Regions from separate parts of the Homo sapiens genome. Here region 1 is linked to region 2. Evidence: promoter capture Hi-C in human tissues and cell types (Jung and others, 2019). All regions are on one chromosome and are shown on one strand. The core of a region is centred on a gene start or on the middle of the fragment in contact, and the rest is flanking DNA. Distances in the headings are between cores, read along the strand shown. Region 1 has its middle 11 kb from the start of KRT85. Region 2 holds the start of KRT3 (keratin 3).

What was found. The method cuts DNA at HindIII sites, captures the fragments that hold promoters and counts their contacts. A contact is called where the count stands out against the background at its distance.
Region 1: a contact is called between a fragment that was not itself captured here and the fragment with the promoter of KRT3 in region 2, in 2 of the 25 tissues and cell types used here (mesenchymal stem cells and thymus).

Annotation. Positions count from the first base shown.
Region 1 is chr12:52,353,389-52,359,951 of GRCh38, forward strand. No RefSeq gene overlaps it. Among named protein-coding and RNA genes, the nearest start is that of KRT85, 11 kb to the right of the region's middle. The HindIII fragment of the contact is 6,815 bases long and covers 1,538-6,563 here.
Region 2 is chr12:52,792,399-52,799,731 of GRCh38, forward strand. It overlaps KRT3 (keratin 3), which reads right to left and starts at 3,719. Exons shown (of 9, transcript NM_057088.3): 1 at 3,000-3,719; 2 at 1,713-1,933; 3 at 765-825; 4 at 313-408; 5 at 1-5. The coding sequence starts at 3,644. The HindIII fragment of the contact is 6,438 bases long and covers 792-7,229 here.

The sequences.
Region 1 (6,563 bases), core at 3,695-6,194, 440 kb before region 2:
TTCTGCAAAAATAGCTTAAGCCTTTTAGTTACACACAGAATACTACTCAAGTGGTAGCATGTTCTAGTAAGAAAAAAAGCTAGGTTTATATTCTGATCATGTGGGTCTCTGCAGGCAACTTGTAAATCTCTATCTAATAATCCAATGTACACACAGCCCCTGGGCCAGGTGTCTGATTCCCATCCCTCCATTCCCCTCACCTCTCTAGCAACCATATTTCTAGATGACTCCTCTAGTGTGATCTATCAGTTTTTGCTCAAAGATTGTATGAACATGTCTCAACATCAGCCTGGTCCAAGTAGAGTTTGGTGTGCAATTTGCTAACCACACTCCTGAAGAAGCAGATGGCAGTGGGTTCAGGTTTGCCTGTAGTTTAAAAAGACTCATGTTGCTGGTCCCTCAGAGAAGGAAGATAATTAATCATTGGTTCTAAAGGATTCTGGGTCATAACATGTCTGAGATGGAAGAGAATTCTGACCTGTGTCTCTGTCCACATGTGTGAGCCATTCCCAGGGTGGTGTGGTCTGCGGGGACCTGGACTCCACTGCCTCCTGTGGCTCAGGGGGTGTGGCCATCAGCAGTGGTGCACTGTGTTGCCCCTCTGCAGTGGGGGCCTGCTCCAGTGCCCAATCTGTGCGGTTTGCATAGAGGGGGTGGGACTCTGGACGGACCTGTTCTGATGGGGGCAGTGTGGGTTGGGGAGTGGAAATCTTTTCTCTTGCATGACCAAATGTCAGTTTAGTAATTTCCCCTTACAGAGAACCCAGAACTAACTCTCCTGTTTCCTTCTTATTGGAGTTAACAATTTACTTTCTCTGTGTAAACCCTGGGTTTGACATTATTTTCACTTCCATTGCTTCTCCCCTTCCCTGTGGTTCAGGAATGAAATAGAAAGGCTTTTTTTTGAATGAATTTCTCGGTCATTGTCTTCCCCAATTAACTTCAGGCCAGCAGATGTTAAATTAAGTCCTGACTGTGTGCCAGATCCTCTTGGAACGGAGCCAGCTAGAGGGTGTGGAGTATGTGGGAACATCTCTGCGCTTTGCCCTCGGATGACAGGGGCTCCAGATGCTGCCTCAGCATGGAAGGGTGGTGTGGGTGTGGAGCTGGGCTCCTCACTTGCTCTGAGAGATTGTATATTCCCAGAGTCCCCCAACTATTCATATGTCCAGATTGAAAGACTGACGGAGGCTAATCAGCTGGGTTTATACTGTTTGTTGCCTGGAAGTTCATTGTATTTGCATGATTCCTGTATGGTTCCTTCTTTCTTTTGGTGTGCTTGATTAAATATCAATGGCGAAAGGCTTTTTCTTAGTAACCAAGTTAATGCCTGCCTCCTTCATTGTCTTCCCAACCCACCCAAAGCCCTGACTGTCTTGGTGCATCTCACAATGTGGTCCACCGACCACCACCTGCATCAGAATCCCTGTGGGGTAGTTGCTAAATGTGCAGATCCTGGGCTCCATCTGGAACTCTCAATCAAAAGTTCTAGGGATGAGCCCAGGAATCTGTATTTTAAGAAGCTTCCAGGTGATTCCTAGAAGAACTAAAGCTTGAGAACCACAGGTTGATGTGGGTAGAGGGAAGAGGAGGGTCGGATAATTCTGGCCATGGAAGTGACTGTCCCTCTGATTCTCACTGGATCGGTCTAGCCCCTTTGCATTTCTCCTTTGTCTGCGGCTAAAAGGTCAGAGCCATGGTCTGGGCCACACACACACCAGGGCAAGGTGGGGGCAAAGGTACAAAAGGGGTGAGGAAGGGAGCCTGTATTTGTTAAACACCTGCTAGGTGTCTGGCACATTATATATGTATTTCATTAATTTCTCACAGCAACCAGAATATTATCCTCATTTTACGTATAAATAAATTAAGGCTCAAAGAAGTAGCTTTACTAAGTTACCCAGCTAGTCCAGAATTCAAACTCATGTCTAGGGAATGCTGCTGTTCATAAATGTTTCCACAGCATTTCCCTAATTGCTCCTCAGGCTAAACATTCCGGCTCATCAGATGCTTCCGGAGGAGTTCTGCCTGATGCTCCTTCACCAGCTGTCTGACACTTTGGAGATGAGATGGAAGGTGACACATGGGACCTCCTAGAAGCATTTGTAGAAACATCTCCCCGTAGGTTCTGTTCTCCAAGAATCTCGGACAGATCGTACCACGGGGCGGTTAATACAAGCCTTTTATATGGGAACCCAAGATCAAAGCTCAGACACGTGGTTGGAAGGCATTTGCCCTGATAACCTGGTCAGAGGCAATTGATTGGTGAACTGTATGTCTGGCCTACTCTTGAACTGACAGTTCCCTAGAAGTCCTACCTAGGGCTGTCTCACCTGTATGTGATGAATGGAGACAGGGGTTTCTGAAGGTCAACTTTCTTTCACTTGTTGTACAGGAAGAACTATTTCTCCCACCTTATTTTATTTGGAACTTTTTTTTTTTTAAGCCTGACTGGGTAGGAAACATTTTGCCACAAGAATGCATATCTGATCTCATGACATAGAAAAGTCTTTAAAAGGTTTTTTTTTTCTTTTCTTTTCCATGGTGCTCACGCACATTGCCAAACCTTCTGGTACCAGCTCCGGACCTGCCAAGGCAATGGCTTGGCACCCCGGCCTAGGGGTGGAGTCTGGGGGAGCAGGGCCTGGCCTTTTGACTACCTGCGGGTTCGCTCCCCACATCCCATTCACTGCAGACGGGCGACCCCCGAGGGTCTTTATAAAACCTCTGTGCCAGGACGCACTAGGCACCTAGACTTCGGAGAGGAGGGCGCCGACCCCGGCCACGGTGCTATGGGCATGTCACGGGGCAGCCCTGAGCAGCCAATAACCCCCAAACACCCTGCCCACTACCCCAAAACGGCGGGCAGGTGGCGCCCAGCTCGCCCTCCCGTCCCTCCCGGCGCCCAGCCCCTAGGCCCCTCACCACTGGGGTTAGAGGCTAAGGGCGGGACGCGGGGCGTCTCGGGCAGGGGTGAAGGAGGGCAGCCGGGGCCCAGGCGTGGAGGGCGGGCGCGTTTGAGAGAGGCGCAGGCGGCGGGATCCCGGCGGACGGCAGAAGACTCAGGAACCAGTCCAGAGGCGCCGAGGCGCGAACCTTGCGTGAGCCAAGGACCCAAGGCCCCTGTGGATCTGATCCCGCGGGCTCCAGCAGGGCCCGCGCCGTGCATCTGGAGATGGGCCCAGGATACCCGGTGGCTGGACGTGACGGTGGGCAGGCAGGCAGGGCAGGGCACGGGGCGACCCGTGAGCAAAGCGAGGGTGGGGGTAGGAGGGGTGTGGCCCCTGACTCTCGTGGGTGGGGAGATGGGGGACAACGGTGGCCTCAACGGGAGACGGGGCCAAAGTGGGGACCTGCAGGGAGGACCTGCAGGCCCCTTGTTACACTGTAAACTGTCCCCACCCAGGTGGCCTGCGGACCACCGAGGCTGAGGAAGTCCTGCTGGCCTGGACGGTGACTCGCCTTCCCATCCCGAGTCTCTCGCATCCAGAGGGCCAGCACTGCACGGGCGACATAACAGAGAAGAGCCTTTGAATGGTTCTCCTCGGCCACGCAGTTCTTCTGATGTCTTCAGACTCTGTTTCAGTGACCACAATGGCCAGGCAGTGACTTGACCTGGGCGGACAGAGGTCTATCTTAGTAGGGTGGTGCTTCCCTTGTCTCTGTCTCCCGGACCAAAGGGTCTTGCAGGGGCCTGCCCATCACAGTCCGGATCCCACCAAGTTTGAGCAGCAGTAAAGCCAGGTTAAAAGGGTCACCAGAGTGACTCTGAGGAGGAAACGGTGTCTCAGGGGGCATTGGCTGCCCTGGGGCATGGGACTGTGGACTGGGGAAGGGTCTGTGTTTCCTTTTGATGGTGGTGGAGGGTGGCTATTTGTCTATGAATGCCTTGGGTATTTTCTTCATTTTTAATGCGTAAGCTTATCATGCTGTCCCCGCCTCACCCCACTCCCTGGCTGCTCCCCTGCCAACATGGGGGAGCCCTCGGTTTTTGAACAAAGCGGAAATGAGCAGGGATTTCCAGGCATGCACAGGTTGGGGGTTGGGGGTTGGGGGAGGCAGGAAGGTGGCCTGAGGCTCTGTGAAATAAGCCTCTCCCATTGCTTGTTCTGCCTGGCATGTCCCTACACCCAAGGAGTGTGGCGCTTAGTGCCCATGTCGTTGTTGCTCTGATCCTCAATGAGCAAAACACTTAGTACAGTCACTTCCTAATGCTCATGTTCCCAGAGAGAGACAGGAGTGTGAATAACCCAGACAAGGGGACATTAAGTCCCACATGGTCATGTCCGTGTCTACACAGAACATACTTGGTAATTTTCTTGATAATATGGTTAATTTGTGTTCCTCACTATGCTTGGCTAATGTGAGTAGTAACACAAAATTCTATTTTCTGAGATCCCAAAGATTGAAGCAGGGAACAGTTAGAGACACGGGCTGGGGGAAGGAACTCTCTTGGGCATAGGTGTTTGTGAGGATGGGTTGAAGCAGAGTGGGTTGAGAATTGGTGGTGGAGTGTTAGTGGTTTCAGGAGAAAGGAAAAGATGACAAATCCCAAGCGTACCTGTTTCTTTGAACAGGTTATTATCCATACTTCTAATCCTCTGGAAGCTTTGTGTGTTTGTGGGGAAGGATATCACTAACATTTACATAAGAATTGAATACAGACAGCAGGTCTGATTTTCTCTGATGCTGGTGTTAGCTTGGTTTGTGATGTTTCTAAGCAGGAAGGAGCCCAGGGCAGAGATCTGGGATCACTCCCATGGCCCACTTTATTGTTTGGGCCTCTTGAACTTCTGGCTTTTCCTCGATCTCTCAATTTCAGGTCACTTGACTTCTTCAGAATTTTTTCTTTCTAATAAAATGTTAATCCTTAGTTACCCTTGGACTGTACCCTTTGCATTCCGAGGGGAATAGTTCTTTGATCAGGAGAGAGCTGCAGGAGCCCCAGCATCCTTTGAGCCAGAAGAGCTTGCTGTGGTGGGTTTTTGCTGTTGGCTGCAAGGAGGGCTGGGGCAGAGGCTTACCTCCCCATAAGCAAAAGGCACCTCTGGCCAGCTGAATCTGTTGAATGGTATTTGCACACAAAGCACGGAAATGTATTAAAAAATTCATTCCTATCTCCCAGGTTCTGGCTGTTTGACTTTTCAATCCATGGTGCCGTTATTTTTTGGGTATCAGATTTGGCATTTTTGTTTTGCTCAGCCCAGATCCATGGTAACATGAAGCTGTTTTCCCCAAGCATAGACTCTCTGTAGCATCTCAGAACCATAGGAGGCAGCAGACCTGGTAAGGACTCTACCCACTCATCTCATAGACCCCAGACTGACATGCAAAGCATGAAAGCCACTTCCTGCCCAAGGACTCACCGAGACCTGGCAGTCTTGGCAGAATTGGGGCTCAAATTTCCATTTCCTGATGTTTCAGCCCCTGGGATTTAACGTTTCCTGTGGGTGAATGATGTCCCCTAAATTGAAAGTTGGCCTATTGTGATTGTCACCATGCCCTCAGGGCCCAAACAGCTGGGAAAAAGGAGGCAGCAGGCAAGAGACCTGGAGGAGGCCCGCCAGGTGTCAGCCAGCAAACCTCAAACAGAGCAGCAGCCTAAGCACTCAGAAGCAGCCAGCAGCCTCCAGTGGGGCTACAGCCCTTTGGGCCTAAAGTGAGGATGCACAAGGCCCTATCTTCTCCTCTCAGAGAAAGAGGCTGCAGGATGGGGCAGCAGGGGGCTGGCAGACACCTGCTTGATGACGGTGACAGCTAATGGGGAGATGGAGCTGAGGGCAAGAGGACTGGATGTCTCTACCTCCTGCTGCACCAGCTGCCTGCATTCATCCAGCACATCCCAGGCCTGGCATATCTTGGAGCCCCATCCTGGGACTCAGTGGGAGGTCAGAGCCAGGAGGAGATACTTCCTGTCCTTATGGAATTTCCAGCTTGATCCAGACACACCCGTTGACATCCCTGGCCCAGATCCGCAGAGACAAAACCAGAGATTCTCAGGGTTCCAGACACTATATGATGGGGGCGGGGGAGGGCTGGGGGGTGTAGGGGTGAGGGTGGTAGCTTTGGGGAGCAGAGGAGGGCCCTGAGCAAAGGCAAATGGGAGGAGGGATGTGGGATGGCCTATGTGTCCACAAGGGGTATGTAGGAGAGAGTGTCTCTGGGCTGCCTCAGAGGGTAGACTTGTCTCCTTGGGGTGGAGTCCATGACTGGGAGGATGAGCACCGCATGGAGGGGTTGGACAGGGCTGAGGAGTAGCTGGGGAAGGAGGTGACAGAGGAAGCCTGCATTTGGCATAAGAAGCACACACATGTGCCAGGAAGTGACTTGAGCCAGGCAGGAGAGGGTGAGAGCAGTGAGTTTGGGATGGAGTTTTGGCTGCTGGGAGTACGCAGGGTGGGTCAGGGAGAAAGAGGTCATTAGTGGGGAGCTGGGCTGTAGTCCAGGCCTGAGGGGACTGAGGGCGACTGAGTGGAATCAGACTGTGGAAGTGGACAGGAAGCAGCAGAGTTTCTGGGGGGTGACTGGGGAAACACTGCATGGGGCTGGACTGGGATTGGTCA
Region 2 (7,333 bases), core at 2,469-4,968:
AGCTCCTGTCAACACAGAGGGAGCTTGTTCACTTTTGGGGTCCCTGTAACAAGCACACAGGGCCCTGAAAGACTCTTGATCAACAGTCTCATTCACTGATTCCTTGCTCCACATGTGTATCAGCCACACCCTGTCCGCAGCCACTCAGAGAACCCCATGTCTGCAGCTTATCCTGTGGAATCCCTTCCAAGGGTCCTCATCTCCAGGCTCATTCCAGATGTCTTCTGGGGCCTATATACCAAAATGCACCAGCCTCAAATCTGGAAACACCTCACTCTCCCTCTGTCCCTTCTTAGTAGGTAACATCCTTACAGCGTCGTAGAGGGTCCTTAAGAAGTCGATCTCATCTATCAAGGCATCCACTTTGGCCTGAAGCTCCACCTTGTTCATATAGGCACTGTCCACATCCTGAGAAAAGAGGAAGATAAAGGCCTTATTCTCCCAATGAACAAACAGCAAACCACAACTGCAGCAAGAAAGAGCAGAGGGGACTGGTGCAGTGATGGTCCTTGTCTAAGACCAGTCTCCACTTGAACGGGCAATTTGTATCTCATTAGGATGGTCTAAGTTTAATCCTACTAAAAAACTAAAGACTGATGAACTAACTCTTTTAGGGATCTTCCAGACTAAGGTGCACCTGACTTCTGTTTATTGCTCCAAAGGCCTGAACTTGGCAGCTCTGTGGCAGTGGAGTGAGGAGATTCCCCCAACCCAGCCAGAAACCTGCAGCTGCAAGCCTCAGAAACCTCACACACAGCCCTTACCTTCTTCAGAGTCACAAATTCATTCTCAGCAGCTGTACGTTTATTGATTTCATCCTCATATCTGTGTGAATAAAAAAGAAACAGCTGAGTTTGGTTTTGAGGTCATCGTAAACACCATTGTTCCCTGGAACTCTGAAAGTTCATCTCTTCCCTCCCTCCATCCCTATCCTGCCCCTCTCAGATGAGCACATCCTCTTTACTATCTCCCTGTTAGTTGGGGGACCAACCAAGTCAATTTGCCCAGGCAAACTGTCTGGTTTTAGCACTAAAATTTCTGCATCCCAGGAAACCCCTCAGTCCCAGGCAAACCTCTGGATGGTTGATCACCATACCATGAGTTGTCCCAGAATCTTTCACATGCCAGAACCAGGATCTTCCCCAACCTGGCTCATGAGGAAATGCTTCCCCAACTCTAAACTCATCCGTTTTTTGTTTTTGTTTTTTTTTTAGACATAGTCTCGCTCTGTCACCGAGGCTGGAGTGCAGTGGTACAATCTTGACTCACTGCAACCTCCATTTCCAGGGTTCAAGAAATTCTGTTTCCTCAGCCACCCGACTATCTTGGATTACAGGTGTGTGCCACCACACCCAGCTAATTTTTGTATTTTTAGTAGAGATGATATTTCGCCATGTTGGCCAGGCTGGTCTTGAACTCCTGACCTCAAATGATCTGTCCACCTCGGCCTCCCAAAGTGCTGGGATTACAGGCATGAGCCACCAAGCCCAGCCTAAACTCATCCTCTTGCCACAATTTTATTTGCAAAGCACCATGCTTGGAGAAGGAAGGTGAGGGGGAACTGAATGAACCAAGCTGTCCTTCATGAAGGTAAGGAGAGGGAAATGGGCCAGGAGACGCCACTGCCCAGCAGTCAGGGGGCATGTAGAAGGGGCCAAGACTCTGAGACAGGGTGGGCCATGGCATCTTCCCACTCCTGCCCTGTCACTCACTTCTTCTTGAAGTCTTCCACCAGGTCCTCCATGTTCTTCAGCTCAGAGTCCAGGCGCCCTCTCTCCCCGAGGATGTTGTCCAGGTAGCTCCGCAGGTAGTTGATGTGATTCTCAAAAAGAGGCTCAAGGTTGTTTGTGCCTGAGATGGAACTTGTGCCCTGCTGCTGGAGCAGGTTCCACTTGGTCTCCAGGACTTTGTTCTGTTGCTCCAGGAACCGCACCTGCAATGGTTGCAGGAAGCAACATCAGGCAACACTTGTAGCAGAGGAGCAGAGGGGCCTTCACTCAGGTAGGACTAGGTGTCTATCTCCTGGGCCCCCAGCACAAAGGCCTAGAAAAGATGCAAAGATAGGCTCCTACTGTAGTCAGAGAGATTATGATCAGATGGGTGATGAGTCAGGACACTACACTTGCAGCGTGGTTTGGAAAGTTACAAAGGAAGGGGAAGTAGCTCCTACCTGAAAGCAATAGAATTATTGCTTGTTGTTCCTGGGAACTTCATGACCCTATCTTAACTTCCAAAACCACAGTACACTCTACAAAAATGCACATAAACCTCAGCAGCACCATTTCCACCCACGACTCTACTGACATGCTAGCTCTTCAAAAACAGTGAAGTGATGCTGGGAAGCTGGGAAGCAACACTGGCTGGCATGCCACAGTTAGCATGACAACACCTCTCTTGGGCCTGGAGGGGAGGCAGCCCCATGAGAACTGTCCTGGTCTGGAGAAGCTCACCGAGCACTCTTGTCTTCCTGACTAGGCTGAGTAGGAGTGCAAAGTCACTCATTTCTCTGCGCTCCCTTGGGACTAACTAAGGTTCTTATGCTCTTAATCCCTGCTCCAGGTAATCAGCCTCCTCTGCCTGGCACAGCAATATGAGGGGGAAAGGGCTTCCTGGAAAGCCTCAGAGGGCAGCTTGTATTTGAAAAGCCTCCCATTCTTGGTGGACCCTTCGCTGATGGTGGCTGTGGCCCTTGCCTTGGGCTGCCTGCCCTGCCAGCCTGGGCCTCAATGAGGCAATGACTGGAAACTTCAGCAGGGGTTCCCACAAACAGGATGTGTGGTGCTCAGGTCCAAATAGGGGACTGTTTTCTTTCTACACCTCCCCTCACTTGACCATGTAGACAAACTCCTCAACCCTGGATATCTTCCCAGACCCTAGAGTTCCACCTAACTCCTCACCCTCCAGTCTGGCCTATCCAAGAAACATTTAAACACTGTGTCCCAAAGGTCAAATTCAAAGTCCCCAGCCCAGGAAGGGATGACCAGTCAAAGCTTCATTACCTTGTCAATGAAGGAGGCAAACTTGTTGTTGAGGGTCTTGATCTGTTCCCGCTCCTGGGCCTTTACTTGCCCAATCTGGGGGTCGATCTCCACATTGAGGGGCTGCAGGAGACTCTGGTTGATAGTCACTTCCTGAATTCCCCCAGGAAAGCCCCCAGGGCCAAAGCCACCAGGACTGCCCAAGCTGCCAGGCCCACCAAAGCCACCAGACCCACCAAAGCCACCAGGACCACCAAAGCCACCAGCCCCTCCAAAGCCACCAGCCCCTCCAAAGCCACCAGCTCCACCAAAGCCACCTCCCATTCCTCTGCCACCACCAAAGCCACCACCAAAGCCACCTCCATAGCCGCTCCCAAAGCCACCTCCATAGCCACCTGCAAAGGCACAGCTGCTCCGCCCTCCCCCAAAGCCTCCAGCCCGGGAGCCGCCAGCTGCCACGCTGATGGAGATGCTCTTGTTGCCGCCCAGGTTGTAGAGGCTGCGACTGCCAAAGCCACCTGCTCCGCTCCGGAAGCCATAGGCCCCTCCGCCAGCTCCCCCAGAGTGGGCCACACAGCTCATCCTGCTGCTGCCGGAGACCACAGCAGAGCGGCCGGAGAAACCCTGGCTCCCGCCACCAGATGTCTTGCTGGCTTGTCTGCTCATGGTAAGGAGCTTGGCGAAGAGAAGAGTGTAAGTTAAGCAGGGACACTGAGAGTCAGAGGAAGAGGGATGGGAAATGAAGACCTGTGCAAAATAAATCCCTTTATATACATTTGAGGAGGTTGTTGGGCTCAAACGAAGGAGAGATAATTAATCCCAAATATTCATGGGCTGGGTTTGCCTCCAAGGCAATAAGTTTGTTCCAGGCTACCAAACACACCTTGAAAATAAGCTGAAATGGTAAAAGTGCTAAGGTGGCAGGCTTACCTGGTGAGGGGGTGGTGCCTGGTGTTGCCCCATGTTTGGGCATGGCCTCCTCCTAGCTCTGTCTGACAGGACCCAGGAGGCACGCTCACCTGCATCAGGTGCTCAGCAGCCATCCCTCTGCCTATTAGCTGCACCTGGGCCCTGCAGAGCGGTGCCCAGCTCTGGAGAGGATAGAGTGGAGGAGGTGTGGGGAGGTTCTGCTTCTCTGAGTAGTGGAGACAGTGGAGCCCACTCACAGCTCTGGGAAAGTATCTTAATGGAAGGAGTGATGCAGGTCTCTCCACAATGACTGAGTGCACAGTATGTGCCCAGCTCTACGCTGGCCTTTGGGATGAAGCGCTGACCTCTCCTTCTCCCTTCTTGGAAAAAAGCCCAGAACTATCACAAATCTGCCTCCTGGGTTCTCCCTGTACCCCAAGCTTTAGTTCAGGAGGTAGTGACCTTTTGGTTTATGACTATCTTTGGAGAAAAAGTCAAGTTAACACCTATGTATGTTGAGCAGACACTGGCAAAATCCAACATGCCTAATGTTTGTTTCTCTTTAAAACTTCCCAGAGAAATTATACACTATTACACATCTTGGGGTTTATCTATGGCTTCCTTTCTTGCTCCCCACATTTTGGCCTTTCTCTGGTTTTAGCTTAAGGCCTAGGGAACAAGAAATTCAAATGTCAAGTCAACAACAAATTCAGCAAATATTTACAGACTGCCAAATGTGTGCCAGGCCCTTTGCAAAACTCTGGAGACCCAGTCATGGACAAGACACACAGGGCCCCTGTGGGACCATTTTCTGTTTGAGAGATGTGCTCCTGAGAGTCGCCCATGCCCCCTCACAAACCCCAGAAAGCCAGATCTGGCAGAGCCGGCAGCACTATGGAATATGTCTGACTCCGAAAGCCTGAAACTCTCCCTGTCTGGGGTTGTTCAGAGGCTTATGACTGGGCTTGGTTTGTCCAAAAGAAAGCCATCCTGCACACTCTGGAGCTGGCCAAGTTAGCTGCTTATCTCTCCAGGACAGGCCTTTTTTGTTCTGTCTGCTGCACATTGGGCCCTTCTAAGGGTGTGGTCTGTATGGCCCTGGCAGGAGCCTCCTTAGAATTGGGGGAAAGGATAGAGACTTCTTCAACACCCACTGGGTAGGGCTGGGAGTGGCCCAAGTGCAAAGGAAGTACAATTTTCTTCAGTGGCCTGGTTCTTCCATTTTATCCTTATCTCTCCCATGTGTTACCTGCCAGGCTGTGCAACATCCTAGCTCCTCCCCAGGATAAAACCATAAGCTCTCCAGGAGTTTCCAGTCTTGTTAATATACTGGGTGCCTTGAACCAAAGCACAGTGCTTTGCCAATAGTAAGTGCCATAAAGTTTGGTTTGTTGAAAAAATGAATTAGTCCATCAATTAATTATTAATGACTAATGGTTAAGCCCTTATACTGGATTACAACCAGATAAAACTGGTTGAAAGCTAGTTCAACTCCCATTGCATGAGGTAGCACAAGCTAATTGAGATTATTTCAATGTGAGGAATCCAGACTTCTCAAATTTGGTGTTCAGATTTAGAAAAATTTACATGCAAAATGAGTGTCACCTCCTCAGGGGAAAAAAATGTAGAATCACAGAATCAAGAACTAATCAATCAAGAATCAATCAATTACAGAATCAAGTTGAAGTTGACTGGACATTTGAGGTCACACAATCTGCCCCGTTCATTGCTGGGATCCCCTCTCCAGCATCTCTGACTTATATCCCTAATTTTCTGCAAGTTCTGCCCATGGACTGTGAAGTTAGCCCAGGCCTAGAGTGTGGCCACACAGGCTCCTCTCCTCTTTGCTCCCTCAAAGGCAATGAACCAAACCCAGGGCTAGACCAGATCCTCCCCATGACTAAGCATGACCAAAGCTATTTAAATTCTCTGCATTTCAGCATCATTAACCATAAAAGATGATCAATCATCTCTGACCCTCTAGATCTCACAGGAACATAGCTAGATGAATGAAATATCTGCCAGTGTTTTAAGAAACATATCACAAGGCCAAATGTGGTGGCTCACGCCTGTAACCCCAATACTTTGCAAGGCTGAGGTGGGCAGATTGCTTGAGCCCAGGAGTTTCAGACCAGCCTTGGAAACATGGCAAAACACCATCTCTATGAAAAAAATACAAAGATTAGCCGGGTGTGGTGTCATGTGCCTGTAGACCCAGGTGCTTGGGAGGCTAAGGTCGGAGGATCACTTGATCCTGGGAGGTCAAGGCTGCACTGAGCTATGATTGCACCATGGCACTCCAGCCTGGACAACAGAACAAGACCCTTCTCAACAAAAGAAAAAGAAAAAAGGAAACATATCACAAAAATTAGACCATATTTTTCCTTATAATATCTAAGAGAGCAGGATGGAGGACCTGCCTTTATGCCAGACAGAAATGAGGCTGCTGCTTGGTCTGGTGTGGGGTCTAGAGTCCAGGGCAATGAGTCTCTAGGAATTCCTAAACCCATAGTGATTCAGGGTACTTAGTGCCCCAATGGGGGGAGATCTTAGTCATTGCCAGAGCCCACTGATTCTGAGCCATGCTTGTCATTCCTTTAGAGGGAATTATCTTGGAGAAGAATCTTTGAGAAGCAACATCACAACCACTGCTGTCATCAGCTAGTCCTGGGTCGGGGACCTCCCCAGCAGATGGTGGAAGAAAAAGGAAGAAGGGCATAATCTATACTTACTCTTGGGGTTGGGATAGCAGAGAAGACATGGCTTGACCTTTGAGAGGACAGGGAGCAAAACAAAGATTGGGGAATACATTCGTGGGACTAGATTGTCAATTCTGATCAGAGCTGTGAGTGAAGGAAGTGGTGGAAGGGGAGGAGATAATCAGTGAGTTGAAATTCTTATTGGTTGGGCCCATCCCTCTAAACTTGTAGGGCCTAATAAACACTTTGAGAAAACAGAGTTGGTTTACAGTCATCCCCAACACTTGAATTATCTGAAGTTTATTAACTAAGCGCCCTAAGTGTTTACTCCCTGGAGAAAAGAGTGAGTCACTGGATTGCAATGTGTAAAATCGAGACTCATAGGGTGCTACGGCCAGGAGGCTCTCCAGTCCACTCCTCTACCTCGAGGCAGAATTCACCTGGCCACTCCTACTCTTCAGGATCCCCATGGAAGGCGATTCATCAAATCTCCTAACTTGCCCAGGCCAGCAAGACCCCACCCTGACCCAAGGAAGGTCTTCAAGGATCTAGCTTTCGTGCCTTCCACTCCATTTCATGGGAGCCTAACTCCTCTTAAAGGATCAGTGAAGTTGTGGTCAGCAGCAGGAGGCCCAGTCACCTGTCCGTCATGGCATGGCACCCATACCTCTCTGCTTGTGAAGGCCCCTTTTAACACACAAAAAATTACATTGACCTTCACACATGTCAGAACTCATACTTCCAGTA